Linked DNA regions of Homo sapiens: regions 2, 3 and 4 are each linked to region 1. The links are contacts of gene promoters, found by promoter capture Hi-C in blood cells and fetal thymus (Javierre and others, 2016). All regions are on one chromosome and are shown on one strand. Each heading gives the region's core, a stretch centred on a gene start or on the middle of the fragment in contact. The rest is flanking DNA. Distances are from core to core; before and after follow the strand shown.

Evidence for each region. Contacts are between HindIII fragments. The CHiCAGO score rates a contact against its expected background, and 5 or more counts as called.
Region 2: a contact is called between a fragment that was not itself captured here and the fragment with the promoter of DMTF1 in region 1, in 2 of 17 cell types (total CD4 T cells and monocytes). The highest score is 5.5, in total CD4 T cells.
Region 3: a contact is called between the fragment with the promoter of ADAM22 here and the fragment with the promoter of DMTF1 in region 1, in 5 of 17 cell types (fetal thymus, total CD8 T cells, non-activated CD4 T cells and 2 more). The highest score is 7.3, in fetal thymus.
Region 4: a fragment that was not itself captured here is called in contact with the fragment with the promoter of DMTF1 in region 1 in 4 of 17 cell types (fetal thymus, total CD4 T cells, monocytes and 1 more); the score reaches 7.4 in fetal thymus.

Annotation. Positions count from the first base shown.
Region 1 is chr7:87,149,550-87,153,953 of GRCh38, forward strand. DMTF1 (cyclin D binding myb like transcription factor 1) reads left to right here and starts at 2,904. Exons shown (of 18, transcript NM_001142327.2): 1 at 2,904-3,006. It overlaps DMTF1-AS1 (DMTF1 antisense RNA 1), which reads right to left and starts at 2,944. Exons shown (of 2, transcript NR_136253.1): 1 at 2,753-2,944; 2 at 1,874-2,109. RefSeq lists enhancers at 1,974-2,537, 2,453-2,692, 2,538-3,099. The HindIII fragment of the contact is 3,514 bases long and covers 686-4,199 here.
Region 2 is chr7:87,856,165-87,860,524 of GRCh38, forward strand. It overlaps SLC25A40 (solute carrier family 25 member 40), which reads right to left. Exons shown (of 12, transcript NM_018843.4): 3 at 2,467-2,587; 4 at 128-187. The coding sequence starts at 2,563. Among named protein-coding and RNA genes, the nearest start is that of SLC25A40, 18 kb to the right of the region's middle. The HindIII fragment of the contact is 3,788 bases long and covers 304-4,091 here.
Region 3 is chr7:87,932,075-87,936,259 of GRCh38, forward strand. ADAM22 (ADAM metallopeptidase domain 22) reads left to right here and starts at 2,177. Exons shown (of 32, transcript NM_001324418.2): 1 at 2,177-2,476; 2 at 2,952-3,112. The coding sequence starts at 2,392. RefSeq lists a silencer at 2,080-2,489 and enhancers at 2,596-3,173, 3,174-3,751, 3,300-3,349, 3,360-3,439. The HindIII fragment of the contact is 4,406 bases long and covers 1-4,185 here.
Region 4 is chr7:87,890,681-87,895,249 of GRCh38, forward strand. The region is part of intron 6 of DBF4 (DBF4-CDC7 kinase regulatory subunit); the gene reads left to right. Among named protein-coding and RNA genes, the nearest start is that of DBF4, 16 kb to the left of the region's middle. The HindIII fragment of the contact is 3,877 bases long and covers 1,226-4,569 here.

The DNA.
Region 1 (4,404 bases), core at 1,654-4,153:
TATGTAAAAGTTCACTTTCAGAGCACCCAAGTTGTATCTTTCTCAGAACTTACAAAACATGGCAATTATTGCTTAGTTAACTAATACATTGTCCCTCTCTCTTCCATGCTAGATTATAAAGGAACAGGTCTTTGAGTCTGGGTCTGGATATTATCCTGTTTTAGTGAAGTATCTGAACTGTTTTGTTTTGCACACCAAAATTACAAAGACAGAACAAAAATTTTTATCCTTATTGGCTAGGAGTATTGGACGCCTTAGCTCTCCATTCCCTTGATAAGGAAACACTTTTCTGGCTAATATTCTATCAATAGGTCTCAACAAAGATTTACCACAAAAGAAGAAAAAAGTGAAGTGGATATAGAGAGGTTGTCACCAGGCTGAGGTATTAAAAGGATTGCAGAGATGAGACACATAGGCAAAATGCAAGGCGGGAAAAGGATTGTAAGATGGAGTGTCATAAGGCCCAGAGGGAAGCCTACAGGAAGAATCTGAGACAGGAGACCACCTGGTAAAGCCTGGTGTGTGGGCATAACTGGGACAGTTTATTCATTCCTCCATTAGCACAGCAATCTCCATCAGCTGGAAGGCCCTACAGTGTATACCCATCAGCTATATTAACAGGACTCAGAGCCTGTGTAGAAAGAAAATTACTCAGTAATTGTAATTTTCTTTTACTTTGAACAAAAGCTTATAAACATCTTTTTTTTTTCTGAATTAGCAAAAGATGATCATGAAACAACAGAACCTGCTTCTCAGTATTTGAAATACTTTATATTAATATATCAACCTGTCATAAAAGGCAATTTCATCATCAATCACTGATGAGGTTCACAAAAGTGTTATAGACACCTGGAGTCCAACAAAGTCAATTTTAACTAGCAAATGCAGTAAATACCATAGCTAAGCTATAAATACTTTAATAATTATTGTTTAGGATAGAAATACTTCTAATGATTTTTCTACAAAACATTTAATTCCTAAATAGGTAAATCCTTGGATAATATTTAAAACCTCATCCATTCCCTAGGTACACATTGACTAAATAATGAGGTACGGATAACATAGAAGTATAACTGCAGAAAATTGCTCTAGGAATCAAGTTGTGTTATGGATAGTCTTTACATTGATTATTCAAGCTAAAGGGATAGAGACGTTATTATATTTTTTTAAATTATGCATTAAGCTAATATTAAAATACATTTGTCATCCCCAAATAAATACCAATTGACTTGGGAAAAGGTAGTTATAAAAGAAACTCAACCAGAAAGGGAGAATTTAGTTATGAGGATGCACTTGACTTTTTGCGGGGAGTTAGCAGCGTGCAGGCTGACCTAAAATTTAGCAGAGGAGAATGGATAGCCCGACTATAATTTATATATCACTATTTTGTGCCTTAGCAAAAATAATCCTATATGGTTATGTCTTATGAAAAATATGGCTCATTAGGAACCACCTTATCAATGTTAATGTCAACAATTTTGCATATGTAATTATTATTTTATTAGAACTGCTCTTTGAGTAGTTGTATTGCTTTCCTGGCTTTAAGGTTTATTAGTTACCATTTTTAATGCTTAATACACGTCAGATTCCATGCAAACTACGCTGTCTACAATATTCTGGAAGGTACATCTTATTACTCCTAAAGTAAACAAAGCTAAAAGAGGTGAAGTGCCATATCCACTACTAAGAAATGGAGCCAAGATTCACACTCAGGTCTGACTGCCTGAGTCCATACCACGATACTATTCTGCCTCATAGTTTTGCTTACATAAACATTATTATGTACTTATTAAAAAATGGAATGATACACGGCTTAACTCCAACAGAATGCAGAGTGCCACAAATTAGTAATAAAGTTATCAACACAAGAAAATGCTGCTTCTGAGATTTATTTTTGAAAATTAGTCAAACATGTCGATCCTCCAGTAAAGCAAAGCATTTGTAAACTGGTTGTAATCATTTGTTTTCGTTATGAAAGTACTGCCAAAGTGTATTTTGTGAACTGCAACCGGGTAGTTCAGAACACAGGCTTTGGAGCTGAGGCTTCAATTCTAATTCCACCGCCAACTTGGGAGCCCTTGGACACATTCCTTCACTTCTCTTTGGTTCCTGTGTAAAATGGGATTCATTTGTAATAATTGTAGCGATGCACTTAGAACTTATGAACATTAAATGAGTTTAATATACGTAAAACATTTACCTGTCACATACGCACTCAAAGAATGCTGGCTCACATTACAGAACCCAAAGGCTTATTTATCCTTTTCGTTTATAAGGGTATTAAAACGCGTTTTCTATTTAGGATGGGTTTATACGGCTGCAACCCAAGGAGCATCTGTACTTTTAAGAGGAACTGGGCACAGCAAAACAGCATCTTCCTAGTCTAACAGTGAGACTACATTCACAGAGGACACATTTCATCAAGAACGACTTAACACGCCCAGATATCTCATATTATGCCCCTGCGGTAAGGCAAATCAAGTATGAAGACACACACTCCCTGTTTTCTTCAGCACTGAGATCACTGGTTCCCTCCGTTCCACACCGCGGCTCCCTCGGCTCGGAGCCACAGGGAACTATGAAAATCGGCACGCGAGGCCTAAGTGTCCCCAGAACCAGAGGAACCACAGTTGCGTCATAGCAGAAGGACCTCTTTTACAGCATCAGCAGTGGGATAGTCAGTGCCGAGTTTTCCTGGCAGGACAGCCGACAACCACCGCCACAGACCAGTACAAACATTCCAACCCAGGACCTTTTTTCGCGCGCCGACACAGCCGGAAGTGACGCGTACAGCCAGCACGCTGGGCCGCCAGCGGGACAGACGAGCGGGAGGGGCAGCGTGCGGGGAGCTGGGGGCGGGGCGCGGCCGCAGCTCCGTTTCCGGTGGCTCGTCGCGCTCGCTCACTCCAGCTGCAGCCACTCTCGCCCGTGGCTGCTTCCTCCATCCTGGTATTTTTTGGAGCTTCCATCCTGGTTCTTCCAAAGTGCCCGGACCCAAAACAGGAAGTAAGTGCGATGGAACCTTCAGGTTCCAACCGCCGCCAGGGCCGCTCCGCCCAGTGGAGCCTGTCCGGCCCCCTTGCTGCCCGCTAGCTCCCGCCGGCTGGCGCAAGCTGTCGGCGCCGGGGCACTGCGGGCGGGGTCGGAGCCTGGCCTTCCTGACGTTGCAGCTGCCGTCCCCGCACGTTCCGGCCAGGGCCTCCCTCTTAGGGCCGGGCGGTGCCCGTGGCTCAGGCTGCAGAGTAGGGAAGCGAGCGGCTGCCGAGGCACAGCGGCGATCCGGCGGGGGCGGAAAATGGCGGCGGCTTCGGAGGAGCTAAATGGCGCCGGGACCCCTGGGGGGTGGGGTGGGCCGGGAGGTTGAGTAGAGAACTGGGCCAGAAGGAGTGGAGACAGTAAGGAAGCCCTACTTGTTTTCTCGTGGTGTTCTATTTTTAGTTTTTATTTTTGTTACGTTTTCGGTTTTGTTTTATGGTCCAGCGTAGGAGAGGTAGGCTTGGGTGGGGTCGAGAGAGTGGGGGTGGGTCTCGACCCAACTTCCCCCCCTTTGCTTTTTTGTTCTTTTCCCTCGTTTGCGCTTTAGATTCTTCTGTAATTTTGCGGGGGTTCAGCCTTGCTCGGCGATTCACGGCCCAGACATAGAGAATCGGGATAGCTGGCCGAACCGTCTCTCTCAGTCTGACTCTCTTTAAAGAAGGGATGTGGGCTGGGGCGCGGGGACAGTCCTGGTGGAGCACGGAAAATGCGGCTGTAAAGTTGTAATTACCCTATTGTGCCGAGTTCCGAGAAAGTTCTTAAAATTGTTAAGTCCACTTTGTTCTCTAAAATGTACTTCGCTTTGAGAATTTCTTCAGGGAGGTATGTAGAATGTTTTACCACAATCTCCAGAGCAGATTTGAGAGTAGAAGTGGCCAAGTGCCCTTTTGTGCAATTGAATGATAGAGCATATGTCTTTATATAAAATACTCGGTGTAGATAAGGAAAAGGATAATAGTATACAGTATGAGTCAGGACTCCTCCCTTTCTCTCATTGAATTTGTGTAGTTGCTTTTTTCGCAACTCATTCATCTTTGTGTACCTCTTTTTAATGTACATGGATTTGATTATGTGTGCCTCCTTTCTGACAGTCGAGGCTGCATGTTGGGACGTCCTACAAAATGCATATTCTGTGGAATTATTTTTTAATATGACATGTCTTAAGCTTAAAGTGACGCCATTTGGAAAATTTTAAATTATACCTGTATTTTTAATTCGTGGGAGAAAACCATTTGTAGCTTTTAAGCTCCAAATACGAAAATATTCTTCCACTATGTTGAAAGTATTGCAAAATCTGTTTTTTTCAGTTAAGGGTTTTCATGTTTTTTCATTACTTCAAATTTCTTTAAGCTGGTTTTGAAATTATAT
Region 2 (4,360 bases), core at 948-3,447, 710 kb after region 1:
AAGTTTTTCATGAGGATAAAGAGGCATCAATTTTAATAAATTAGCAAATGAATGTTAGGCAAAAAAAAAAACCACAGGAACATTTAAAAATCAAACATAACATTTTTAGGGCAATTAGTACACATACCTTTGGGGAGTGGGTTGTTTTGGGCTTGGAGTCTAATTTTAACAACATCCAGGGGTGTCACTATGAAGATATGTTAAGTTTCAATTAGCGAGTGGTATCTGTAAATTGGATAGATGTTTTACACAGAACACAAAATACATTGATTCATACTTTTCCTCATGGCTATATAATTGGTAAGCTTATTTATCTTAAAGTAGTCTTGAATGTAACATTCTAATTTTTTTGCCCTTAAATTTTGTTAATCAGTGAAAGACAGACGAATTACTTCTCTCATGAGTACTAAACTGTTATTTGTAATATTCCTACAACTATCATTACATTAGCATTAAAGTCAGTATTTATAAGAAAATATGATTTCTAATATAAGAAGTAAAAGTTCCAAAAGACTTTGAGAATAACTTTCTATAAGTAATCAATAGCCAAATGATATTAGTCTTCCCAATCTGTTAAATTTACCTGTATCAAATAAGAGGTACAGATAATAAAAATTTGAGTAAACTAGTCATAAAACATCTTTAGCACTAAGTTATGTTATTCCATTTGGGCATAGCACAGCAAAGGAAAATAGTTTTAATATGCATGCTATATTTTATCCAAGTAGAAACAAATGCCAAATAATGTTTCTAAGAAAACTTTTCCTCATCTTGAGAATGATGATAATTATATTAGATGATCTCTATGACCTTTATAACTCAAATTCTGACCTGAAAATACATCATAAGCAATTAATTTATTTGTTCTAATCATTTGTTATTTACATAAACTAGCCAACTTAAAAATCATTAAAATGCTAAACTATCACCTAACTGTGTCATTTGGCTACATCTACAAGAAGCTGACTGTAAGAAACAGAAAACTGTGAACCAGAGAAATTTAAGAAATTCCGTTAATGCAAAGTAAAGATTATTTGTAATTGTTACGAACATAAATTGTGAAAATTCTGTATTATTCATTATGCTAATATTTTATTCCATCTTCTTGCTTTCTATTATAGACATGGGGAATCAGAAAAGTTTAATGTTGATAGGGACCCAAAAGAAATCCCAGTTATAAGCCCCTAATTTACAGATGAAATAATGAAGTTCAAATAAAAGTTAGATACTGTTCCCAAGTGTATTCACCGTGAGAATGGCAAAGCAAGGACTCAAGTCTCTTGAATCTCTGTCCAGGGTTGTTTTCATATAATAATATGATGAAACATTCATGGATCATAAATGATAGTATGTGTTGCAGGAAGTCAGGGATCCTGAATGGAGGGACCAGGTGGAGCCGCAGCAAAGGAACATAAATTCTGAAGATTTCATGGACATTTACCAGTTCCCAAATAATACTTTCATAATTTCTTACCCCTGTCTTACTTTAATCTCTTAATCCTGTTATTTTTATAAGCTAAGGATGTACATCACATCAGGGCCACTATGATAATTGTGATAACTGTACAAATTGATTGTAAAACATGTATGTTTGAACAATATGAAATAAGTGCACCTTGAAAAAGAACAGAATAACAGCGATTTTAGGGAACAAGGGAAGACAACCATAAGGTCTGACTGCCCGCAGGGTCGGGCAAAATAGAGCCATATTTTTCTTCTTGCAGATAGCCTATAAACGGACATGCAAGTAGGGAAGATATTGCTAAATTATTTTCCTAGCAAGGAATATTAATAATTCATACCCTGGGGAAGGAATGCATTCCTGGTGGGAGGTCTATACATGGCCACTCTGGGAGTGTCTGTCTTATGCCGTTGAGATAAAGACTGAAATACGCCCTGGTCTCCTGCAGTACCCTCAGGCTTACTAGGATTGGGCAACTCCACCCTGGTAAATTTGAGGTCAGACTGGATCTCTGCTCTCAAACCCTCTTTTCTGTTGTTTAAGATGTTTATCAAGACAAAACGTGCACTGCTGAACATAGACCCTTATCAGTAATTCTGCTTTTGCCCTTTGCCTTGTGATCTTTGCTGGACCCTTATCAGGAGTCTGTGATTTTGCCCTTGTCCTGTTTCCTCAGAAGCATGTGATTTTTGTTCTCCTTTTTACCCTTTGAAGCATGTGATCTTGTGACCTTACTCCCTGTTCTTACACCCCCTCCCCTTTTGAAATCCTTAATAAAACTTGCTAGTTTTGCAGCTCAGGTGGGCAATCACGGTCCTACCAATATGTGATGTCACCCCCGGAGGCCCAGCTGTAAAATTCCTCTCTTTGTACTCTTTATTTCTCAGCCAGCCAATACTTATGGAAAATAGAAAGAAACTACGTTGAAATACTGATACTAAAACTCAAATGGAAGCACTGACTCATTCAAAGTTACATAATCTACATCAGTAACATAATTTTACCTATTACTGATGTCAGTATAGCTCCAGTACATGAGGCAAGCATTTGTTGAAGAGGTGTCACTTTGATAATCTCTTGTCCCCTTGTCTCAGGATCCATATTTTTAACTAATTAAATAAAAACCTGTTAAAAAGAAAACATAAAATTAGAGCACATCCTCTGATCTTTCAAAAATGATAACATCCTTCAGCTAAGCTGGGTGAGCAGCATCACATTAGTAAGACAACTAAGAGAGAATTAACCAAACAGATACTGACAGAATGAAAGCAGGTGACCACTAAGTCTGAGTCTGTGAACTCAGCCTCATACACACTACTAAAAAAACCTCCCCAATAGAGTACAGAGGTATCAGCAAATACAGCCCTTTATTGTATACCAGTAGTTGTTGTACAGATGTAAAATAAAAACACATAACCTTAATAAGTTTTATCTTACAAAAATTTGATGAGAAAAGCAACATAAAAACATAAAAAGTTTTAAAAAGTCAGATAATACAGAACAGTATAAAAATAACTTATGAACTTACTATTCAAAAATAATCACCGGCCAGGCGTGGTGGCTCACACCTGTAACCCCAGCACTTTTGGAGGCCGAGGCGGGCGCATCATGAGGTCGGGAGATCGAGACCAACCTGGCTAACATGGTGAAATCCTGTCTCAACTAAAAATACAAAAAATTAGCCAGGTGTCTGTAGTCCCAGCTACTCGGGAGGCTGAGGCAGGAGAATGGCGTGAACCCAGGAGGCGGAGCTTGCAGTGAGCCGAGATCGCACCACTGCACTCCAGCCTGGGCAACAGAGCAAGACTCTGTCTCAAAAAAAAATAATAATAATAATCACCAGCAACAGGAATGTCATCTTTCCAAATGTCTATGAACATACACACATACATATGTATATGTCTATACACACACATTACATCTAACCAAATATTGTATATTAATCAAACACACGTACACTTATGTGTCCGTGTACATACAGCTTTTCTGAAAAACAGGTCAATACTATTTTGCTTGTTTAGTAGGCTGCTTTAACACTTAAAAACACATTATAGACATTGTGTCAATAAAAACAGATTTACATTTTTATTGCTTGCACGGTAGTTAATTATATTTATTTAATCAGTTTCAGATTGTTAGATATCAGGTTGTTGCCAATTTCCAAACTATAAAATATTCTGCTATAACATTCTTATACATACATATATATATTTTTGTAACCTTCCTACAATTACTGTAGGAAAGATAGTAAGATTGATGGGATAAGCTATTTTAAAACTTGATACAGGGCCAGGTGTGGTGGCTCACACCTGTAATCCTAGCACTTTGGGAGGCCAAGGCAGGTGGATTACCTGAGGTCAGGAGTTTGAGACCAGCCTGGCCAACATGGTGAAATCCAGTCTCTACTAAAAATACAAAAAATTAGCAGGGCATGGTGGCGCAAACCTGTAGTCCCAGTTCCGTGGGGGACTGAGGCATGAGAATCCCTTTAACCCAGGAGGCAGAAGTTGCAATGAGCCAAGATCGCATTACTGCACTCCAGCCTAGGTGACAGAGAAGACTACATGTCAAAATCAAAACAACAACAACAAAAAAAACGTCATACAAATTGCCATGATGCTTTCCAGAAAGCTTGGATCAATCTATACTTCTACTGGCAATATGAGAGTTCCTACTTATCCATGACTTATCAAATTCTCTGTCAAATTACATATAATTTTTTTTCTGAACCATTCAAAAGTAGGCTGCATACATCATGTCCCTTCACCATAAATACATCAGAATATTATCTTATATAATCACAATACAATTATCAAATTCAGGAAACTTAATTTTGAACCGTACTCTACAGTTCATATTCCAATTCTGTCAATAATATCAATAATGTCCTTTATCAAA
Region 3 (4,185 bases), core at 927-3,426, 780 kb after region 1:
AGGACATGAATAGACAATTCTCAAAAGAAGATATACAAATGGCCAACAAACATATGGAAAAATGCTCAACATCACTAATTATCAGGGAAATGCAAATCAAAACCACAATGCGATACCACCTTACTCCTGCAAGGATGGCCATAATAAAAAAAAATAGATGTTGGCATGGATGCAATGAAAAGGGAACACTTTTACACTGTTTGTGGGAATGTAAACTAGTATAACCACTATGGAAAACAATATGGAGATTCCTTAAAGAACTAAAAGGAGATCTACTATTTGATCCAGCAATCCCACTACTAGGTATCTACCCAGAGGAAAATAAGTCATTATACAAAAAAGAAACTTGCACATACATGTTTATAGCAGCACAATTTACAATAGCAAAAATATGGCACCAGTCAAAAGGCCCATCAATCAACGAGTGGATAAAGAAAATGTGGCATATATATACCATGGAATACTATTCAGGCATAAAAAGGAACAAAATAATGGCATTCGCAGCAGCCTGGATGGAAATGGGGACTATTATTCTAAGTAAAGTAACTCAAGAATGAAAAACCAAACTTTGCATGTTCTCACTCATATGTGGGAGCTAAGCTATGAGGACACAAAGGCATAAGAATGATACATTGGACTTGGGGACTCAGGGGAAAGGGTGGGGGATGGTGAGGGATAACAGACTACACATTGGGTACAGTGTACACTGCTCGGGTGATGGGTACACCAAAATCTCAGAAATCACCACTAAAGAACTTATTCATGTAAACAAACACAACCTGTTCCCCAAAAGCGATTGAAATACAAAAATAAATAATAAACACTCGGAAAAAAAAAATAGCCTCAAGTAACTACTGGCTACAGTATTTGAAAGGCACACCTCTAAATCTTAATTTTTTTCCTTTCTAAAATGGGAGTAGGCATGTGCAGTGGCTCACATCTGCAATCCCAGCACTTTGTGAGGCCAAGGTGGAGCCCAAGAGTTCAAGAGCATCCTGATCATCATGGGGAGACTCTTGTCTCTACAAAAAGTAATAATAATAACAAAAAATAGCCAGGTGTGGTGTCACATGTCTGTGGTCCCAGCTATTTGGGAGGCTGAGGCAGGAGGATGGCTTGAGCCCAGGAGCTTGAGCTGCAGTGAGCCGTGTTCTCACCACTTGCACTCCAGTTGGGGCGACAGAGCAAGACCCTATCTCAAAAATACATACATACATACATACGTACATACATAAATATAAAATCAGAGTAATAGTTATAATCAAATTCTTGACCAAAGGATCAGATAATACATGTGAACTTTGAAAAACTAAAAAATACAAGTATTACTTTATGTAGATAACTATTTTATTATTGTTTTATACTCAAGAATTTCTATCATTTTGAATCAGAGGAAAATGGAATAAGCAGCCTGAGAAAACTGAGTTCCCCATATCTGGTAGAGTTTTGAGGCTGTCTGGCAATAAAGAACAAAAATATCCCGTAGAGTTAAGCTAAATCATCCCTCTATTACCTGCAGAGACCTTCCCTGGGAGGTCCTCTTTGACTCCCTGGACTGAATTAATGGTCCTCTAGGTATAACCATGACACTTTTCACACTGTATTGTAAAAAAAAGTGGTCTGTCTGCTCAACTTTACCCAAGAACAGGTGCCTCTGATCCCCGTGTCCTTCCGGTTGTCAACCGCTGGGTACATAGTATATCCTCAATCTGTATTTGTTGAATAATTCACTAGCACTGTATTCGTGAGGGTATGGTTCTCCGGATAACTTAAGTAACTACTAATCTGTGGTAAACAGAACAGCTCTTTAAGGACGATGCAGATGAATACTGGCTGCTGTAACGGCCCAGTTGGTGCATCTCGGATGCCAGGAGGCGGTCCAGTGCTGATCTCTTTCTTTTGCCCTTCCCTCCCGCCCTTCCAGTCTGTGGGATATAGAGGACCTCACAGTCACGAGGTCGCGACGGTCCGTGCCGTCGTGGAGACAAGCGGGACACGGAGAGAGAACTACATTTCCCAGCTGACTCTCCTGCGCGCGCCCTTGCCTGCGCGCGGGGGGCGAGTGCACCGGGCGCTCGCTCCCTGCCGAGCTCTTGTCGCCCGCCCGAGCCTTTGCCAGGGGATGAGGTGGGAGGCGCTAGAAACCACTTAGCTACAGCCAACCGCCCAATGCAGCACTCGCTCGCTCCCCCCGCCAGCGGAAGCGTCCGCGAAGCACAATGCAGCACTGAGCCGCGGTGGAGGTTGCAGCGCCACGGCCGCCGCAGCACCGGCCGGGGCTGGGTGGAGGTGGCCGCGGGGACCCCGGGGGCGCGGAGCGAGGGAAACGGACTCGGCGGCGCCGGCATGAGGAGCTGAGCGTCTCGGGCGAGGCGGGCTGACGGCAGCACCATGCAGGCGGCAGTGGCTGTGTCCGTGCCCTTCTTGCTGCTCTGTGTCCTGGGGACCTGCCCTCCGGCGCGCTGCGGCCAGGCAGGTAAGTTAGCCGTCCTCTGTGCCTTTGGGCCATACCATTTCCCGGGAATCTTTGGAGCCCTCAGGCGTATTGAAAAGGGGGCATCCCCATTTCCCGAGTGCGCGGGGAGATTTTTTTTTTTTTTTTTTTTAATTCGGGAGGGTGGTGAGAAGTGGAGCAAAAATATATGTGTGGAGGCGCGCAGATGCACTGGAAGCCTTCGGTCAAAGCCTGTTTTTCTCCTTCTGAAGAGGAATGGGGAGAATGGGAAAGGGGTGCCCTGCTTCTGGGCCCCGCTCCTGGTTGCTCTCGGATGAGCTGGTCCAAGGCTCTCGGGCTGGTGTCTCTGCGTCCTTCCCAGTTGGGTTCCGAGAGGGAGGGGGCGGTGGGGATTTTCGTAGGGGAGACGTAGGACTGCAGGATGGAGGAGTGAGGGTCAGGGTCATTATTTTCGCCTTTTCTCTCCACTCCCTCCTTTCCCGGTTCCTGCCTGGAGGAGACGCCTCATTGATGGAGCTAGAGAAGAGGAAGGAAAACCGCTTCGTGGAGCGCCAGAGCATCGTGCCACTGCGCCTCATCTACCGCTCGGGCGGCGAAGACGAAAGTCGGCACGACGCGCTCGACACGCGGGTGCGGGGCGACCTCGGTGGCCCGCAGGTGAGAGGCTCGGTCCGGGAGGTGGTCCTCCGCGCCTCCCGGCCCACCCGAGACCCCACGATTGCGCTCGGTTGCCCTGGAGATCCCATGTCTTCTTGGGTGAAATGAGTTGGGTCCCGATGCGAGTCATGCATGGCGCTCCCTGTGCAAAAAAGAAGGGGAAAAGGGTACAAAAAAGAACCAAAATAACCACAGGCCGAGGGCTTTGCCCGAGGGGAGTTTGTGCGGGGTGCCTTCAGCAGTGCGGTGAGCTGAGAGAACAGGCGGAGAGCCCTCTGACATCTGTCAAGCAAAAGCCAGGCATGCACAGCGAGAAGGGAGGTAGTATTTGGGCAGGGTTTGAATCATCATTGTTGTTGTTTTACTCCTCAAAGAGACTTCATAAGTGATTTAACCCAAGGTTGACACTGTAAGAAAAAATTGGAAAAAAACAAGGCTAGACGTTCTTAAGAAACCCAACTGTAAAAACAAGCTGAACTTTAAGGTTCTATTCGCACACATTTGTGGACACCAGAGATATGCCCATTCACCCCTACCTTCTAGAAAAGGTGTCCTCCTCCGACTTTCTTTATTGGTAGCAGTTCTCTTGGTTTAATTAGGGCTGTGCTGTTTGTTGAGCATTTATAAATTATGTTTTTAAAAATCTAGTTTTTATCACTGTATCTGTATTTAAATCAAGATCACACATTCACAGATATGCCTGAAAATTACTGTGAATTTATTGACAAATTTAAGTAAATACTTCTGGGGCTGTGTATTTTTTTATTTCTACACATCAGCTGATCAGGCAGTTCACCCACCTGTAAGTCCATATTAAGATAGGACTTGTTCATGTACTTGAAAATTTTTGTAAACTTTACTGAAGCAATGGCAAGCCAAACCTTTTCACATGTATAAATATATTCATCAGTGCTTTAAGATATATCTTGATGATGTGATAATTATACTAACTTATCTGTATGTGTGAAATATGTAAAAATAGAAAATATTACTTAAATCTGTATTTGTAGCCAAGTAGTTGGTACTGTTAACATTTTGTTAATAGAAGGTGGGAAATTAGCTTAAAGGGCTAC
Region 4 (4,569 bases), core at 1,914-4,413, 740 kb after region 1:
AGTGTCTTGAGTCTAGTATTTACTAGATTATTAACATCATAAAGACCAAGTTTAGTCCTCATCATTCCTTCAGTAGTAACAAATATTAAATGCCTGCTATGTGCCATGCAGTAGGAGCCCTCATAAAACGAAGAAAAGATAAAATAGCTATGAAACAGATCTTAATCTTTCTTCTAAAATAAAAATGATAATAATACCAAATATCTTGATAGTCCAGAATCTATATCTGGTTGAATTGATACTCATACTGGAAATTTTTATTTTGGTATATAAGAAAGGAATGTTTCTGGAAAATTTTTAGTTTGCCAAGTACTAAAACAAAATTAGTGAAATTACATTTAAGAGTCTTGAATGGACATGTATAAATTTCAAAATGTTTATTAGGTTCCCATAAATGTTCTTATTAGTATGTATCTTATTTAAAATATGGTAATTGGATAAAGGTATTTTACTCATTGCTTTATTTAAAGTGCTTTGAGGTTTGGGCTTTTCTTTTTTTTTTTTTTTTCCAGTTTACTCAAAACTTATTTTGTCGAATTTTTTACATACATGTGCAGGAGGAATATTGGTCTTTTTCTTTGATGTCTTTGTCTGGTTTTAGTGGAATGTTTAATCCTATTTTCAGAACACACTGATATGTGTTCCTGTTTCTATTTTCCAGAGAAGTTTTTATAGAATTGTTTTTATTTCTTTAAATGTTTGGTAGAATTTACTAGCAAGGCTATCTAGCCCTGACATTTTTCTTTGTTGGAAGATTCTTAACTATGAATTCAATTTATTCATTAGATATAGGATAATTCAGGTTATTTTCTCTTCAGTGCATGTTGGTAGTCTGTTTTTCAAGGAATTTGTCCATTGTGTCTTGGTTGTCAAATTGATGGGCAAAGAGTTGTTTCTAATACTCCCTTATTAACTTTGTAATGTCTATGGGAACTGTAATAATGTCCCCTCTTCCATTCCTGATAATGCTATTTTGTGTCTATTCCTTTTTTCTTAGTCAATCTGGCTAGTTTTACCAGTTATTAATATTTTCAAGGAAACAGCCTTTAGTGGCATTGATTTTTTGTGTGTGTGGTTTTCTGTTTTCAGTTTTATTGATTTCTGCTCTTATTTCTTTTCTTCTGCCTATTTTGGGTTTATATTTCTATTTGTAGTTTCTTAGGTAAAAAGCTTGAATCATTGATTTGAGACCTTTCTTTTATCTTAATGCTATAAATTTTCTTTAAGCTTTCCTTTAGCTGCATCCCACACATTTTACACTGGATATTTTATCAATAGACTTTATTTTTTTAGAGAAGTTTTTGGTTCCCAGTAAAATCGAATGAAAGGTACAGAGATGTTTTACATACTCCTTGTCCTAACATCCCACACCAGAGTGGTACATTTGTTATAATCGATGAACTTAACATTGACACATCATTATCATCCAAAGTTCATAGTTCACATTTTGGCTCACTCTTAGTGTTGTACATTCTATGAGTTTTGACAAGTATGATTATGACGTGTGTCCATCATTATAGTATCATACAGAATGGTTCCACTGCCCTAAAAATCTTCCGTGTTTATCCCCCCATTCCCTTAAACCCCAGATAACTCCTGATGCTTTTACATTCACCATGGTTTTGCCTTTTCCACAGTGTCATATAGTTGGAATCATACAGTGTGTTTCCTTTTTTGATTGGCTTCTTTCACTTGGTAATGCTTATTTAAGGTTCCTCCATGTCTTTTCATGGCTTGACAGCTCTTTTTAAAATCTGAGTAATATTTCATTTTCTATATGCAGCACAGTTTATCCATTTACCTACTAAAGGACATCTTGGTTGCTTCCAAGTTCTGGCAGTTATGCATAAAGCTAATGTAAATATCCACGTGCAGGGTTTTTTTGTGGACATATTGTCAACTCATTTGGGTAAATAACCAAAGAGTATGATTGCTGCTTCACATAGTAAGACTAGGTTTAGTTTTGTTATAATATGCCAAACTGTCTTCCAAAGTAGTTGTGCCATTTTGTATTCCCACCAGCAATGAATGAGAGTTCCTGTTGCTGATAGGTTGGATTTTCATCTTTATTCAATTAAAAATATTTTTAAATTTCTCTTGTGACTTACTCATTGTCCTGTGGGGTTACTTTTATCATTTGTTTCCAAATAGGAATTTTTCAGCTATCTTTCTGTTTACTGATTTCTATTTTAATTCTGTTATGGCCATATAACGTGCTTTTTATTATTTTAGTTTTAAAAAATTTATCAGAGTTACCCAAAATATAGTCTATCTTGGTAACATTCCATGTGCAGTTGAAGAAAATGTATATTCTGCTGTGGTTGGGTACAGTATTGTTTACAAGTCAGTTAGATCAACTTGAGTGATAGCGTTGCTCATGTTTTCTGTATCCAGGATATAGAAATGTTGCTCAGGCCTTGTTCTGTCCACTACTGAGAGAGAGGGATATTGAAATTACCAAGTAAAATTGTGGATTTGTCTAGTTTTCCTTTTAGTTCTAGTACAGTTTTGAGTCATTTTGAAGCCTGTTGTTGGATATGTACACATTTAATATTCTTTTTTTTTTTTTTTTTTTTGAGACGGAGTCTCGCTCTGTCGCCCAGGCCGGACTGTGGACTGCAGTGGCGCAATCTCGGCTCACTGCAAGCTCCGCTTCCCGGGTTCACGCCATTCTCCTGCCTCAGCCTCCCGAGTAGCTGGGACTACAGGCGCCCGCCACCGCGCCCGGCTAATTTTTTGTATTTTTAGTAGAGACGGGGTTTCACCTTGTTAGCCAGAATGGTCTCGATCTCCTGACCTCATGATCCACCCGCCTCGGCCTCCCAAAGTGCTGGGATTACAGGCGTGAGCCACCGCGCCCGGCCTTCTTATGTCTTCCTGGTGAATTGACCCTTCTAGCCTCTGTAATGCTCTCTCTTCTGTCCCTGTTAATTCTTATTCTGAAGTCTGCTCTCTGATGTAGACCATTCTGGCTTTATTTTTATTAGTATTTACATAGTACTTTTTGCAGTCTTTTGCATTTAACATATCTATATATTTAAAATGGACTTCTTGCAGATATTGTCTTTTTCATCAAATTTGGCAATCTGTCTTTTAATTGGTAGTTTAAGTGATTTATACTTAATGTAACTATTGATCTTGTATTTAGGTCTACCATCTTACTGTTAGTTTTCTGCTGATGCCCTCTGTATTTTATTTCTGTTTCCCCCTTTCCTGCCTTCTTTCAGATTGATCTGCCAGCTTTTTAACTCTCTTCATTTTTGTTGTTTTATTTTAGTGGTTGCTATAGGATTTACGATATACATGTGTGACCTTTCGCAATCTATCTTGAATTAATATTTACCTTCTTCAAATAAAATGTAGAAGCCTTAAAATATTCAAGCCCTTTTACCTTCCCCACCAACCTTTATGCCATAATGTTTAGTACATCTTCTTATAATGAAAATGTCACCAGACAATGTTAAACTTTTTGCTTGAAAAAGTCATATTTTAGGGCTGGGCCTGGTGGCTCACACCTGTCATCCCAGCACTTTGGGAGGCCAAGGTGGGTGGATCACTTTAGCTCAGAAGTTCGAGACCAGCCTGGGCAACATGGTGAAACCCCATCTCTACAAAAAATATATATATAAATTAGCCAGGCCTGGTGGCATGCGCCTGTAGTCCCACCTGCTTAGGAGGCTGAGGTGGCATGATGGCCTTAGCCCAAGAGGCGGAGGTTGCAGAGAGGCAAGATCATGCCACTGCTTGCGACAGGGCAAGACCCTGTCTCGGGGAAAAAAAAGAAAAAAAAAGTTGGGTTTTAAAGAAAGCGACAGGAGGAAAATAGTCCTATTAACCCAGATGTTAACCTTTCCATTACTCTTCCTTCCTGAAATTACAGGTTTTCTTCGGATATATCCCTTTAGCCTGAAGGACTTACTTTAGCATGTTTTAGAGCAAATCTGGTGGCACAAGGAATTCTCTGAGATATCCTTCATGTGATCATATCTTTACTGGAAAAAGAATCATGAATTGAGAGTTCTTTGTCTCAGCACCTTACTCTTGTCCTAAAACTGTCTTCTGGTCTCCATGGATTCTGACGAGAAATCTGCAGTTACTCAAATTGGTATTCATTTATATCTACTGTATCATTTTTCTCTGGCTGCTTTTAAGATTTTTTTCTTTATCTTTGGTTTCAGAAGTTCGATTGTGCCTACACTTGGTTCACTGAGCTTATTGATTTGTGTAAATTTATGTTTGGAAAGTTTTCAGCTATTATTTTGTTAATTTTTTTTCTTCACTAGTCTCTCCCCTCTTTTTCCACCATTCCAGTTGACAATAAAGTTAGACATCTTGATGTTATTCCACAGATCCCTGTGGCTCTTTTCCTTTTTTCCTTAGTCTTTTTTGTTTCCTCTTTTCTTCCAATTGGAGATTTCTATTCATTTGTCTTGAAGTTCACTAATACTTAATTGTGTCATACATGTTCTGCTATTGAGCTTATCCAGTGAATTTTGTTATCTCACTCAGATAGTATATTTTTCAGTCCTATTATTTTTGTTTGGTTCTTATTTGTAGTTTTTCTGCTGA